4 separate regions of the Homo sapiens genome follow, and regions 1, 2 and 4 are each linked to region 3. Evidence: promoter capture Hi-C in 16 types of primary human blood cells and fetal thymus (Javierre and others, 2016). All regions are on one chromosome and are shown on one strand. Each heading gives the region's core, a stretch centred on a gene start or on the middle of the fragment in contact. The rest is flanking DNA. Distances are from core to core; before and after follow the strand shown.

What was found. Contacts are between HindIII fragments. The CHiCAGO score rates a contact against its expected background, and 5 or more counts as called.
Region 1: a fragment that was not itself captured here is called in contact with the fragment with the promoter of TANGO6 in region 3 in 5 of 17 cell types (megakaryocytes, activated CD4 T cells, endothelial precursors and 2 more); the score reaches 6.5 in megakaryocytes.
Region 2: the fragment with the promoter of ZFP90 here is called in contact with the fragment with the promoter of TANGO6 in region 3 in 8 of 17 cell types (non-activated CD4 T cells, erythroblasts, M1 macrophages and 5 more); the score reaches 9.8 in non-activated CD4 T cells.
Region 4: a fragment that was not itself captured here is called in contact with the fragment with the promoter of TANGO6 in region 3 in 10 of 17 cell types (megakaryocytes, naive B cells, erythroblasts and 7 more); the score reaches 7.6 in megakaryocytes.

Annotation. Positions count from the first base shown.
Region 1 is chr16:69,127,375-69,130,989 of GRCh38, reverse strand. The region is part of intron 1 of DERPC (DERPC proline and glycine rich nuclear protein); the gene reads left to right. All of the region lies in intron 1 of CHTF8 (chromosome transmission fidelity factor 8), which reads left to right. Among named protein-coding and RNA genes, the nearest start is that of CHTF8, 3.4 kb to the left of the region's middle. The HindIII fragment of the contact is 1,291 bases long and covers 1,016-2,306 here.
Region 2 is chr16:68,537,346-68,540,989 of GRCh38, reverse strand. ZFP90 (ZFP90 zinc finger protein) reads right to left here and starts at 1,699. Exons shown (of 5, transcript NM_001305203.2): 1 at 1,511-1,699; 2 at 1,165-1,232. The coding sequence starts at 1,197. The HindIII fragment of the contact is 12,761 bases long and covers 1-3,644 here.
Region 3 is chr16:68,841,933-68,845,158 of GRCh38, reverse strand. TANGO6 (transport and golgi organization 6 homolog) reads right to left here and starts at 1,628. Exons shown (of 18, transcript NM_024562.2): 1 at 1,448-1,628. The coding sequence starts at 1,541. RefSeq lists an enhancer at 1,388-1,657. The HindIII fragment of the contact is 15,665 bases long and covers 1-3,226 here.
Region 4 is chr16:68,518,396-68,521,907 of GRCh38, reverse strand. No RefSeq gene overlaps it. Among named protein-coding and RNA genes, the nearest start is that of ZFP90, 19 kb to the left of the region's middle. RefSeq lists enhancers at 794-843, 884-933, 954-1,033. The HindIII fragment of the contact is 3,788 bases long and covers 262-3,512 here.

The sequences.
Region 1 (3,615 bases), core at 412-2,911, 290 kb before region 3:
AAACGTTCTGAGTTGTTCACTTGGTAGAAAGGCACATAGAGACATAGTCATCATATTTAGAGAAATTACCTTCCAGAACTTAATCCCTGAAGCAGTTTGGTGAACCACAACTGCCATGTTTGAATTCTACTGTTATGAAAACTTGATTTTATTCTGATGACCTGCTGCTTTCGTAGAATGCTTTAGTCCGTTATAAACATTAATATGCTAACACAGTGTAGTATTAAGACATTCTATTTGATGAATACTAAGAAAATGCCACCTTTCTCTGGGAAATCGATAGCTTGACCCTGAAGGCTTACCATGTGTCAGACAATGTGCTAAAAGCTTTACATTCATTACTCGTTCTTGCAACAGCCTTTCAAAATAGGTGTTTATGCCCAGTGTATTGTTAGGAAAACACGTGAGGTTAAACTACCCACTGTCACATATGGGATAGGTGGCAAAATCACAGAATCCAGGTCTGTATGACAAGTGAGTGCTTCACTATATTCGTAAACAAAGTATCCACCCTGGGATCAAAAAACAAAAGCTCAATAAATGCCAACTGTTGGCCTAGCAAAAAATAGAAAATTGTGAATATTTACACTCTGAAATAATTGATTTCACCCCAGTTTAGAAAAGAATGTTTAAGGGTTGAGAATTTAAAGGCTTGGTTTCCTGTTTGAAAAAAAAACAAAATTTCTAAAACGTTGTTTAGCTTTATTAAAATTTAGTTATTTGTATTGAGGTTAAACCGTTGAGTCAAAGCCTCTTTTTTGCTATAAGCCATATGTTCGGTTTAATTGGATACATATCACACTTTCTTCTGCCACATTTTATTTTGAAGGATTATGAGGATCATTGCTCAGGCTGTTCTGTTCTCTGTAAGACAGTAATCTTTTAACAATTTAATATTTAACAATTCAGAGACCAGAGGGTAAGAATTAAATTCTGTGGAAGATTAAAATGAATACTTGACAAAGAATGTCCTCTATTCTCTTGACTTTCACATTCAGGAGCAGAGGGTAAAGCTTTGCGTCCTAGAGGTGGCATTGAGTAGATTTTTCTAAAAGTTTCAAAAACTGAAACATCTCAATTGGGTATGATAAAAAGCAAGCTGCTTCTTTGTTTTTAGCTGCCTACCCCACAGATATAATACTTTGGTGGCAAGTTACAAGGTCTTTCCATAGGTTACTTTGCCATTTTGTAAGAGATGCTGTGAGAACGAGGCTAATATTTGTAAAGCAAGGGAAGTTATCATACAGAGGTGCTTTACAGGAGGGGGCTGTGTGAGGAGAACTGCAAGAGGGGCCAGATTGTGGAGGGGTTAGGGTTCATATCCCAGCTCTCCACTTAAGTAGCTGTGTGACCAGTTAACATTTAGCTCCTCTAAGCCTGTTTCCTCATTTGTGAAATGGGAGTGAGAAGACCTTGCTAAAAGCATAGGGTGTCAGGGTGAAATAAGAGGATACAGATAAGTGAACGAGGCTAGCTTGTGAGAAATGAAGCCTTTTGTATTATAAAAATAATGTTCTGCCTGGACTTTACTTTTCTTCCTTTTTTTTTTTTTTTTTTTTTGTGACGGAGTCTCGCTCTGTTGCCTAGGCTGGAGTGCAGTGGCGTGATGTCGGCTCACTGCAACCTCTGCCTCCTGGGTTCACGCCATTCTCCTGCCTCAGCCTCCTGAGTAGCTAGGACTACAGGCACCTGCCACCACGCCCGGCTAATTTTTTGTATTTTTACTGGAGAGGGGGTTTCACTGTGTTATCCAGGATGATCTCGATCTCCTGACCTCGTGATCTGCCCGCCTCGGCCTCCCAAAGTGCTGGGATTACAGGTGTGAGCCACCGCACCCGGCCTCTGCCTGGGCTTTTCTTAAGAAATCATGGTGGTGCTTTGATTTGCCAGTTTTTTTTTTGTTTTGTTTCAGTTTGTCTGTTTTTTGAGATGGAATCTTGCTCTGTCACCCAGGCTAGAGTGCAGTGGCACAGTCTCGGCTCACTGTAACTACCGCCTCCCAGGATCAAGCGATTTTCCTGCCTCAGCCTCCTGAGTAGCTGGGATTACAGGTGAGCGCCACCATGCCTGGCTAATTTTTGTATTTTTCGTAGAAACTGGGTTTCACCATGTTGGTCAAGCTGATTTCGAACTCATGACTTCATGATCTACCCGCCTTGGGCTCCCAAAGTGCTGGGATTATAGACGTGAGCCACCGTGCCTGGCGGGTTTTTTATAATAATAGTTACTAATTTCAAAAGAGAGAGAGAAGCCAAATGCTGGTTAAATAAGGTATATTCTAGAGTGGTCTGATTACAGCCAAAGCTTTTTAGTTTTGGGTAGGGTTCCCATTGTGGGTCAGGATTGATTCTTTGAATGCTGGTGCCTTTTTGAGGGGAAAAAAGTTTCCTTTACTGAGATAAAGTCGTTTGACTAACTTAGGAATACAGAATTTATGTATTGTTTAGTTCATTTAGCTGCGTGAAGGCCCATAAAGATCAAGTAGAAAACTTTTTTCCCTCCTCATGAGATTGGGGACAGGATACATAATTTATTGCAGGGAAAGGTTTGGTTTTCTTTATACCTTCTTATCTTTCCAAGGCTACACATGAGTTGTGGCCTGTGAGTCTGATACCACACTGTAATATAATGAATTTAAATCTTTTTGAAAAGCTACATCACAGAAGTCTCTCCCTGGCTCTGCAGTTAACCTTGTCAACCTAGAATTATTGTTCCTAACGAAAGACATGTTAGTCCTAGCCAAATCTGGGGTTGAACTCTGCTCTTAAGAGATAGTTAGCCGGGCGCTGTGGTTCACGCCTGTAATCCTGGCACTTTGGGAGGCCGAGGCGGGTGGATCATGAGGTCAGGAGTTCAAGACCAGCCTGACTAATAGGGTGAAACCCCATCTCTACTAAAAATACAAAAATCAGCAAGGCGCGGTGGCAGGTGCCTGTAATTCCAGTTACTCGGGAGGCTGAGGCAGGAGAATCCCCTGATCCTGGGCAGCGGAGGTTGCAGTGAGCCGAGATTGCGCCACTGCACTCCAGCCTGAGTGACAGAGTGAGACTCTGTCTCAAAAAAAGAAGAAAGAGAAATTTGGCCGGGCACGGTGGTTCACGCCTGTAATCCCAACACTTTGGAAGGCCAAGGTGGGCAGATCACTTGAGGTCAGGAGTTCGAGACTAGCCTGGCCAAGATGGTGAAACCCTGTCTCTACTAAAAATACAAAAAGTTGCCGGGTGTGGTGGCGGGCGCCTGTAGTCCCAGCTACTTGGGAGGCTGAGGCAGGAGAATCACTTGAACCTGGGAGACAGAGGTTGCAATGAGCTGAGATCGAGCCACTGCACTCCAGCCTGGGCAACAGAGGGAGACACTGTCTCACAAAAAAAAAAAAAAAAAAAAAAAAGTTGCCGGGAGAGCTCTTCCACTGACTCTCTTTTAGTTTCTTGACTTCATGTATAGCGTATTCATCAAATCGTGCCTTCAGATGCTCTTGATAGAGCTGCAATTTCTAAACAAGCCCCATCTTAGAACAAACAACTAGAAATTGCTCTAGTCGTCTTTCAGTGTTGCTGGAATGAATTGAGACTGAAGACTTAGACATATTCTTCTTATACAGATAATTTCCATTGT
Region 2 (3,644 bases), core at 450-2,949, 300 kb after region 3:
TTGCAGTGAGCCAAGATCATGTCACTGTACTCCAGACTGGGTGACAAGAGACCCTGTTTCAAAAAAAAAAAAAAAAAAGGCATGATGTATTGTATGCTTAATTCACTATAAACTGCTCTTTTAAAGGACATTACTAAGTTGGTGTTTTTATCTTTTAAATTTTTTTTTTTTTTTTTTTTTTGCAGAGACGGAGTCTCACTATGTTGCCCAGGCTGGTCTCAAATTCCTGGGCTTAAACGATCCTATTGCCTCAGCTTCCCAAAGTGCTGGACTTACAGGTGTGACCCACTGTACCTGGCAACTTGGTATTTTTATTTGAATTGATCTTGATGTCTCACACACCTAGCAACTACAATCTGTCATTTTCCCTTAATTCTAAAGAGAATGTAGATTCAAAGATACAGATACCATCTGGATCTTGATGTATTTTCACCAATATGTAAATCAATGGATAACCTTAGAGTTGTGACGCTTCTAGAAAATGCCCCCTCTGCCACAAGAATAAATGGGTTCACGAATCAGCCTCACATTAAGGTGAAGGCTGGACTTCTGGCGGTGGGGAGTGAGTTGCTCTATTACATTTTTGTTAAAGCAGAAAAGGACAGACACAAAAAGCTCTGGGAGAATCAGCCCTGGTTTTATTTTTGGTTGTTTTTTATTTTGTTTTGTTTTTGCCTCCTTGCCCAAGAAAGCCCATCTCCAGCCTCTTCCTAGACATGTTCTAACCAGGCTTCTACGGCCCCTTACGGACTCTCTATGGGCCCTGGGTCAGAAGCTGGGGCTCCTCTCTCCACACTTGCCGACAGTCACTTCCTCCTCTACAGTGTTCCATCCTGTGACCCCACTCTCTCCATTTCTTATTGACAAGAGTTCAAAAAACTGGCGTGGCATTCAGGACTCTCAAAACTGACACTTCCCAACGCATCCAATCTCAACTCCTCCCACAAGATCGCACCACACTGGCCCTCTCTACCCCACAGAGCAGCCTCCCCTTTGGGAATCCAGCTCCCCAAAGCCTGGGGTTTTCCATGGCCAGGAGGCTCCGATCGAGCCAAGCAAGTAAGGGAGTCGCCAGGCAGAGAACAATGACTGCTCCAAACACCCTTGGGAGATGGGATGGATAGATGGATGGGATGCCCAGGAGGTTAGGAACGCGTTGCTCACCTGGGGCGCGGCGGTCGGAGGCCTCGGGGCCATTCCTGCCTCGCCAGGGCCCGGCTCCGGGGCAGGAGCTGGGGAGAAAGGACAGGGCCCACTCACCCCGCTGCAACACCGACCCCACCCCGCCCCGCCCCGCCCCACCTCCGCCCCTAAACCACATCTCCAGGGGAGATGGTGGCGAGGACCGTGGAACCAGCCCGGGCCTGCCGCTCCCCATCCCCGAAATGAAAGGCTCAGCGGCCTCCCGGACACCCCCCTCCGGCCACGCCCAGTCCCCTTCGCAGGGTGGTGGGCGAGGCCCGGCTGACACCCGCCAAACCCAGGAGGGGTCCCGCCCAGACCCGCGCACTCAGAATCACCGCCTCTGGGGGGCTCCGGATTTCGCGACCTCCGGCCCACCCAGAGCCTCGGGCAGCTCCTCCCGCCCCCGCCGAAGCCTCGGTTATCTCCAATTCTGATCTGCGGAGGGGCTGCCCAAAGGGGCCTCAGCCGCACCGGGGTCGGACAATGGCCGCAGCGGTGGGGCAGAACTGGAAGTGCGCCTGCGCACTCGGAGCCTCGCTCCTGCAACCCCGGGTCCACGCCGGGCGCGCGAACTACACTTCCCAGAGGCCCGCGCGCGCAGGCCCCGCCTAGGCGGCTTCCGAAGGCGCGTTAGGGACCCTTGCGAGGGCCGAGGGAGGCGGCCAGTGTGGCTCGAGTGTGCGTGTCCCTGTATTCCAGTCACTGTCCGCCTCCTCTTTGCAAGGGGCTTGTTGCTAGCTGGGGAATCGGCCGGGAAAGACCCTGGTTTCGGGGAGCAATCGTACGCCCCTTTCGACGAGGCTGACGATAAAAACGCAAACATGTCAACAAGATAATGTCAGGTCCTGACTTCAGCGGTAAGAGTGACACAGGAAGGGAGTGAGACAGCGTCAGAGGGTGGGGCATTTACATCTTCTTCAAAAGGCAATTTTCCATTTCTCATTTTAGAGAAAAAAGAAACTTCGGACAAATCCGTGGCCTCCTGAGCAATGTGCAAAGGCAGATCTACTGCCGTGTTATTTCATTACTTCGTATCCCCTTACGCAGGATTTTGTTTGGGACAAGCAAACAATGATGGAAATTTTCTTTTTTTTTTTTGAGACACAGTTTCGCTCTTGTTGCCTAGGTTGGAGTGCAATGGCGCGATTTTGGCTCACCGCAGCCTCCGCCTCCTGGGTTCAAGCGATTCTCCCGCCTCAGCCTCCCGAGTAGCTGGGATTACAGGCATGCGATGCGTCACCAGGCCCGTCTAATTTTGTATATTTAGTAGAGACAGGTTTTCTCCATGTTGGTCATGCTGGTCTCGAACTCGCCTCGGCCTCCCAAAGTGCTGGGATTACAGGCATGGGCAACCGCGCCCGGCCCGATGGAAATTTTCAACACAAAGATAGGTCAACTTTTAGATACAGCTATTACGTTTATGTAATTATGTCTTATATATCACAGACATTCAGGCTACATTTCCTAGATTTCAGCTTGATTTCTTAACATTAGAGCATTGCATACCAACATGGTAGAAAATGACTGCAACGAAATGTTCCTGATGTCACACTGCTTTATCAAAAATATGAACATTCAAAAATAAATGCTTTATGCCGGGTGCGGTGGCTCAAGCCTGTGATCCCAGCACTTTGGGAGGCTGAGGCTGGCGGATCACCTGAGGTCAGGAGTTCGAGACCAGCCTGACCAACATGGAGATAGCTCGTCTCTACTAAAAATACAAAATTAGCCAGGCTTGGTGGCGCATGCCTGTAATCCCAGCTACTCAGAAAGCTGAGGCAGGAGAATCGCTTGAATCTGGGAGGCAGAGGTTGTGGTGAGCCGAGATTGCACCATTGCACTCCAACCTGGGCAACAACAGCAAAACTCCATCTCAAAAAAAACAAAACAAAAAAGGGAGAAAATTTCCATCACTGTTGGCTTGTCCCAAACACAAAATCCTGCGCAAGGGGCTAACAAGTAATGAAATAACACGTCAATAGCACAGGGAGGCTGAGGAGGGAGGAGCCCAGGAATTAAAAGACCAGCTTGGGCAACATGGCAAAACCCTGTCTCTACAAAAAATACAAACATTAACTGGTTGCAATAGTGTGCGCCTGTGGTCCCAGCTACTTGGGAGGCTGAGGTGGGAAGATCGTTTGAACCCGGGAAGCAGAGGTTGTGGTGGGCTGTGATTTCACCACAGCACTCCGACCTGGGCGACAAAGCGAGACTGTCTCAAAAAATATATATAAAAATTAATGAATGCTTTCTATCACTGCTTTGTGAATATAGTGGTCTGGAATTAGCAGAATGCATAATTCACAAGTATGAATTAGAGTGGACCGGGAGGCCTCTCTGAGGCAAGTGACTTAGTAGCTGCAACTTAAGGCAACTGCAGGCTGGGCATGGTGGCTCACGCCTGTAATCCCAGCACTTTGGGAGGCTGAGGGGGGCAGATCACTTGAGGTCAGGAGTTC
Region 3 (3,226 bases), core at 379-2,878:
CCGTCTCTACTAAAAAGACAAAAATTAGCTGGGCATGGTGGTGTGCACCTGTAATCCCAGCTACTCGGGAGGCTGAAGCAGGAGAATCGCTTGAACCTGGGAGGCAGAGGTTGCAGTGAGCCGAGATTGTGCCACTGCACTCCAGCCTGGGCAACAGAGTGAGACCTCATCTCAAAAAAAAAAAAAAAAAAGAGTTGCCGTTAGAAGACAAGTGACCTCTCGATTAGCAACTTAAAATTCTATTTTGCAGTCTGACTCTTAATTGAGACAATGTAGCATATTTACCATACTTTTAGTGGAAATAACCTAAATTCAAATTCTGCCACTTACTAGTCTGACATTGGGCAATTTCCAATGTACCTGAACCTTGGTCCTTCATCCGTAAAAATTGAATACAAGTAGTACCGATCCCAGGGGATCGTAATGAGGATTAAATGATGTGTATGTCAACAGCCTACTATGGGGACTGATACTTAGTAGGCACTCATTTACTAATATTAGTAACTTGTGTTCACTTCCCGCTGGTGTGGTGTAATGTTTGCAGAAGTTTTTGCAGTTTTAAGTATAAAATCTGAGACTGGGAGGTGATCCCCTTTGGCCTTTCATGTGCCCTTGCTAATTCTACAGATCCCTTCCCATCCCTTCCCCCAAATATACACCCCAGTGATAAGCAGAGCTCTATCTTCCACGTCCTTTCCAAAAGCTCCAGATAACATCAGAGCCCCTATACTGAACAATTTGTCTGATTCTGAGAAGGGGGTTCAGTAGATCTCGGGCCTAGGTCCGTGTTCTGCCCCTAATTTGACCACGTGATCTTGGACAGGTTACTTAATTTCTTCAGTGAGCCTTGGGTGTCCTCAGTCGCAAAAGGAGTAGCAGCTTCAACCACTCCCAATATCCCTTCAGATTTTAGACTGGGAAGAAACTGTCCACGCACCACAAAGATTAAAAGCGCCTGGTAACCCCTAAATACTCTCCCCAAACCCATTTCAAACGTCACTGCTTCCGATGTCTGGACTTCTTGGCATTTCGTACAAATCTCAAGGGTCCATGCTGGCCCCTGCGCCCTCACGCGGCTAGGACCTCACATTTCTACGTCGCGGGCGCCCTACCCTCTCTGGAGCTGGGTCCATATCCCCCTCCCAAGAGCGCTGCAGTAAGCACTGAATGAAATAACGGCCCCGCCTGACAGAGCCCAGCACAAGGCAAATGCTCAAGAGATGTTGGCTAATATCAGCAGTCAACGGATCCCGCGCCCTCCTTGAGCCTCAGTTTCCTCAAGAACGTAATGAGGACGGGCATAGACAATGCTCAAAGCCCCCAGCAGCGGGCGGAGGGTCCCGAGGCGGGCCTAAGGGGCGCACGCTGCGGAAGGCAGGGCAGCCCCGGAAGCCGGGCGGCCCTGAGAGTCCCGGGTCCAGCCCGGCGCGGAGATGCGTCCTCTCACCTCCCGGGCTCAGCAGCAGCTTCAATGCCTCCAAAATCCGATCCAGACCGCATGTCTCCTGAGCCCCGCTGCCCACGGCCTGTCGGGCCGCCATGACTGGAGTGTAACACCACGCTCGCGACCCGCTCAGGCGCCTCGGCAGGGCGCCGCCGCCGCCATGTTAAGTGTGGCAGAAGGCTCTGGGCACACTATGGGGCGGGGCCAAATCGATCGGGAACGCCCCCTTCACATTTTTTTTCCGTCCCGGCTTAGTCCGGGGGGTAAGAGGGAACCCAAAAATGGCTAATCTGCCCACGCGCACAATTTCAGAAGCTCAATATGATTAACCGCTATGTAAAGAAGGAAGAGAGAAGTAATGTATCATTAAAGCTATATTTCAATATGAAAATACTCAGGTACTCAACACTGGCAGACATAATGAAGCAGACAGATGCTTCCATCTGCTTACAGTGAAGTATGGATAAGAAAAACAATATTCAGGCTGGGCGCGGTGGCTCACACCTGTAATCGCAGCACTCTGGGAGGCCGAGGCGGGCAGATCACAAGGTCAGGAGTTTGAGACCAACCTGTCCGATATGGTGAAACCCCGTCTCTACTAAACATACAAAAATTAGCCAGGCGTGGTGGCGGGCGCCTGTAGTCCCAGCTACCCGGGAGGCTGAGGCAGGAGAATCGCTCGAAGCTGGGAGGTCGAGGTTGCAGTGAGCCGAGATCACACCACTGCACTCCAGCCTGGGCGACAGAGCGAGACTCCATCTCAAAACAAACAAACAAACAAAACCTAAGTACAGACGTACACACGCATATATATCCATCGTGAATGTAAAGCTACAAATGTTGTTATGGGTAATATGATTTTTTTTTTCAGTGAACTTAGTAAAGTTCCCAGTAAAAGTTCGATCTGTGTTCTGTTTTCATGGTTGATGCATTCCTCGAAAATTCAGGGTCTATCAAAACCATGCCCTCCGCCAAACTGTTTTTATATGTAAAACAGAATGGATTTGAGATTCAGATTATCGGAAACAGGTTTTCACCTACATAAATCCTGGTGGGACGTTGAAAAACCATGTTGTCTGAAAGTCATGCCGCAGACACAGGACAATGTTTTTGAGGGCAGGACCTTTATTTTTATTTTATTTTTTGAGATGGGGTCTCGCTCTGTCGCCTAGGCTGGAGTTCAGTGGCGTGATCTCGGCTCACTGCAACCTCTGCCTCCCAGGCTGAAACAATTATCTGGCCTCAGCCCCCCGAGTAGCTGGGATTACTGGAGTGCCCCAGCATGCCCGGCTAATTTTTGTATTTTTTGTGGAGACAAGGTTTCGCCCTCTTGGCTAGGCTGGTCTTGAGCTCCTCACCTCAAGTGACCTGCCCACCTGGGCCTCCCAAAGTGCTGGGATTACAGGCGTGAGCCACTGCGCCCGGCCCAAAGGACAAACTTCTTAATGGTCCGGTCCTTGGGCGAGAATAAGCTGCGCATAGCTATTACCCTTTTTGGCATGACTCTTGTTTCTTCTTTTCTTTGTCATTTTGGAATGCAGGGCCTGAGAGGGAAAAACGCTAAAAATTTTTTTTTAGAGATGGAGTCTCTATGTTGCCCAGACTTGTCTCAAACTCCTGGCCTCAAGTGATCCTCCTGCCTCAGCCTTCCGAATAAAATCTTGTGTGTGTGTGTGAGACAGAATCTCACTGTCACCCGGGCTGAAGTGCAGTGGTGTGATCTTGGCTCACTCCAACTTCTGCCTCCCCTGCTCAAGTGATCCTCCCGCCTCAGCCTCCCAA
Region 4 (3,512 bases), core at 906-3,405, 320 kb after region 3:
ACTCCTGACCTCATGATCCACCCGCCTCGGCCTCCCAAAGTGTAGGACCACAGAGGCTTTGCTTTATTATAAAGAGTAATGGTTTTTGAGAAGAGCTAAGACAGCTCCTTCATTGTATAGATGAAACTAAAGCCCAGAGAAAGACACTAGTTGGAGGAGGAAGAATGTGGTATAGGAAGGAAAAGATGCCTGTCATCTGCTGGAGGGATTCTTAAGTTACATTGTAGCATTATGTCTTCTTAAATTCACCAGGTAAAAGCTTATGCTTAAAACTATTTAAATTCAAAAGTGGTAATTTAAAAAATAGAATGCTGAGTGAAGTGGCTCGAACCTTTAATCCCAGCACTTTGGGAAGCTGAGTCCGGAGGATCACATGAAGTCAGGAGTTCGAGACCAGCCTGGGCAACAAAGCAAGAGCCTGTCTCTACAAAAAATACAAAAATTAGCTGGGCATGGTAGCATGAGCCTGTGGTCTCAGCTACAGGAGGAAGGCTAAGGTGAAAGGACGGCTTGAGCCCAGTAGTTCGAGGTTTGAGGCTGCAGTGAGCTATGATTGCACCACAGCACTCTAGCCTGGGCGACAGAGTGAGACCCTGTCTCAAAATAATAATAATAATAATAATGATGATGATGATAATAAAGTGAACACATTGCTTGACTGGGCTTTGCTCATTTGCTTTGCTTTCTTCCATTCTGTTCCACTTTCTCTTCGCTCTGTTTCCAGGTCTGCTGTTGTGTGATCTCCAAGTGACTTTCCCTCTCTGGGTTGCTATTTCATCTGTACAATGCAGGAGCTGTTTTGGCTGATCCAAAACACCATTTTAATTTTTCCTACCACAACTGCTAAGTCCAGTTCAACCAGTGAAGGTGTGACCTGAGCAGAGGTGAGAAAACACGAAGGTGAAAGTAAGCTGGGTCCTTCATCTCTGCCTGGACCTTGGCCTGGGCTCACGGCCTGCCTGGGGCTGATGGCCACAGACCCCCGCCCCCACCCCAGCGTCTGATACGCCGCGCCTGGGGCGATCTTGGTACCTCCCCGCCACCGCGTGGGGACAACACATTCGCAGCTCCGCGGTTACCAAGGCGACCCAGCTGGTGTATCCTCGGTAGCCCCCTAGCGGACACTTATGGAACCTGCAGTTCTTTCCTTTACCTCGGGCGGCGTATTTCACCTGCAGCCCTGTCCAGAGAGGGGGCGGCTCTCTTACCTGGCCTCTGTATTGCTTCTCTCTACCCTGAGCCTGGCCACCCGCCCCACCTCTCCAGACATTTCGGTTTCTCCTCCAGGGACCAGGCTTCTCTGGCTTTGTCACCCAGGCACAACAGCTCTAATTACCCATCCCTTCCAGCCAGGGTCCTGGGGACTTCAGAAGGGCTGTCACCCACGGCACTTCCAAAGTCCCTCTCGAGAGTGTAAAAGTCTGGCCGGGCGCGGTGGCTCACGCCTGTAATCCCAGCACTTTGGGAGGCCGAGGTGGGTGGATTATCCAGCCTGGCCACCATGGTGAAACCCCGTCTCTACTAAAAATACAAAAATTAGCCGGGCGTAGTGGTGGGCGCTGTAATACCAGTTATTTGGGAGGCTGAGGTGGGTGGATTATCCAGCCTGGCCAACATGATGAAACCCCGTCTCTACTAAAAATGCAAAAATTAGCCAGGCGTAGTGGTGGGCGCTGTAATACCAGTTACTTGGAAGGCTGAGGCAGGAGAATCGCTTGAACCTGGGAGGCGGAGGCTGCAGTGAGCCGAGATCATGCCACTGCACTCCAACCTGGGCGACAGAAAGACTCTGTCTCAAAACAAAAAAAAACAAAGAAGAGAGAGTGCAATTTATTATTATTTTTTTCTGAGACAGAGTCTCGCTCTGTCGCCCAGGCTGGAGTGCAGTGGCACTATCTTGGCTCACTGCAACTTCCGCCTCCCGGGTTCAAGTGATTCTCCTGCCTCAGCCTCCAGAGTAGCTGGGCTACAGGGGTGCACCACCAGGCCTGGCTAATTTTTGTATTTTTAGTAGAGCTGGAGTTTCACCATATTGGCCAGGCTGATCTTGAACTCCTGACCTCAAGTGATCCACCTGCCTCGGCCTCCCAAAGTGCTGGGATTACAGGCGTGAGCCACTGTGCCTGGCAATGAGTGTAAAAATCTTATGTGATGTGGAGTAAAATACCCTTCCCTCGGCCAACCCCCTGTCCACACCCCACCCCCAGCAACCCTTGACTCAGACTCTGGCTTTGGGATCCACTTTTCCTTACAGGCCTCGTGCATCTGTGTGATGGAATCCCATAGGCAGCACAGCCCGGCCGGAATCCAGGGAGCCACTAGTGCATGGGGTGGGGCAGCATCACCAGAACTGGGCATACAGCCTCTGTTGGGAGACAGGCAAGCATACAGACAAGCCAACCCAATACAGGACTGGAGGTGGGCAGTCACAAGGTTGGTGGCGCAGTGTGCTGGGAGCACCACATGGAAGGGGGAGGACCACAGCCTGAGCTGGGCAGAAAGGCTTCCTGGAGGAAGTGATGCTTGAGCCTTGAAGGATGAGTAGGCGCTGGCCTGGGGTAGAGATCTCAGTGATGGCTTGAGGGGTGGGGGAGGACTTCTCTTCAGAGTCTACCTTCCTGAGTGTCACTCCTCATCAGGGCCCCTCCTTGCCCTTTTCCTCTTCTCACCCTGTCCCCATTCCCTGGGCAACCTTCCCCAGCCCAGCAAATGTAACCAGCATCTCCTTGTTACACGTGATCCTTTTCTCCTCGTCACAGGCAGTCCCTGGATGTGCCCTGGACTTGCTTGCCTTCCTGGTGAGTTTATTCATCCTTCAAGACCCAGCTAGAAGGCTGAGCACAGTGGCTTATGCCTGTAATCCCAGCACTTTGGGAGGCTGAGGCGGGTGGATCACTTGAGGTCAGGAGTTTGAGACCAACCTGGCCAACATGGTGAAACCCCGTCTCTACCAAAAATACAAAAATTAGCCAGGTGTGGTGGCGGGTGCTCATAATCCCAGCTACTCGGGAGGCAGAGGCAGGAGAATTGCTTGAACCCAGGAGCCAAGGTTGCAGTGAGCAAGATTGCGCCATAGCACTCCAGCCTGGGCGACACAGCGAGGCTCCGTCTCAAAAAGAAAAAGACCCAGCTAGATGTTCACTCTTTCTGGCACCTTCCCAAAACCACCCTTTCAATCCTGTATTTATTCCACAAACTTCTACTGAACACCAGGTATTAGGCCCAGGATGTGGCCCTACATTGCAACTTTTTTTTTTTTTTTTTTGAGACAGGGCCTCACTCTGTCACTCAGGCTGTGGTGCAGTGGTGAAATCATAACTCACTGCAGCCTTGAATTCCTGGGCTCAACCAATCCTCCTGCCTCAGCCTCCCACGTAGCTAGGACAACAGGCGTGTCCCACTATGCCCGGTTAATTTTTGTATTTTTTATAGAGATGGGATCTTGCTTGTTGCCCAGGCTGGTCTTTAACTGGCCTCATGTCATCCTGTCACACTGGCCTCCCAAAGTGTTG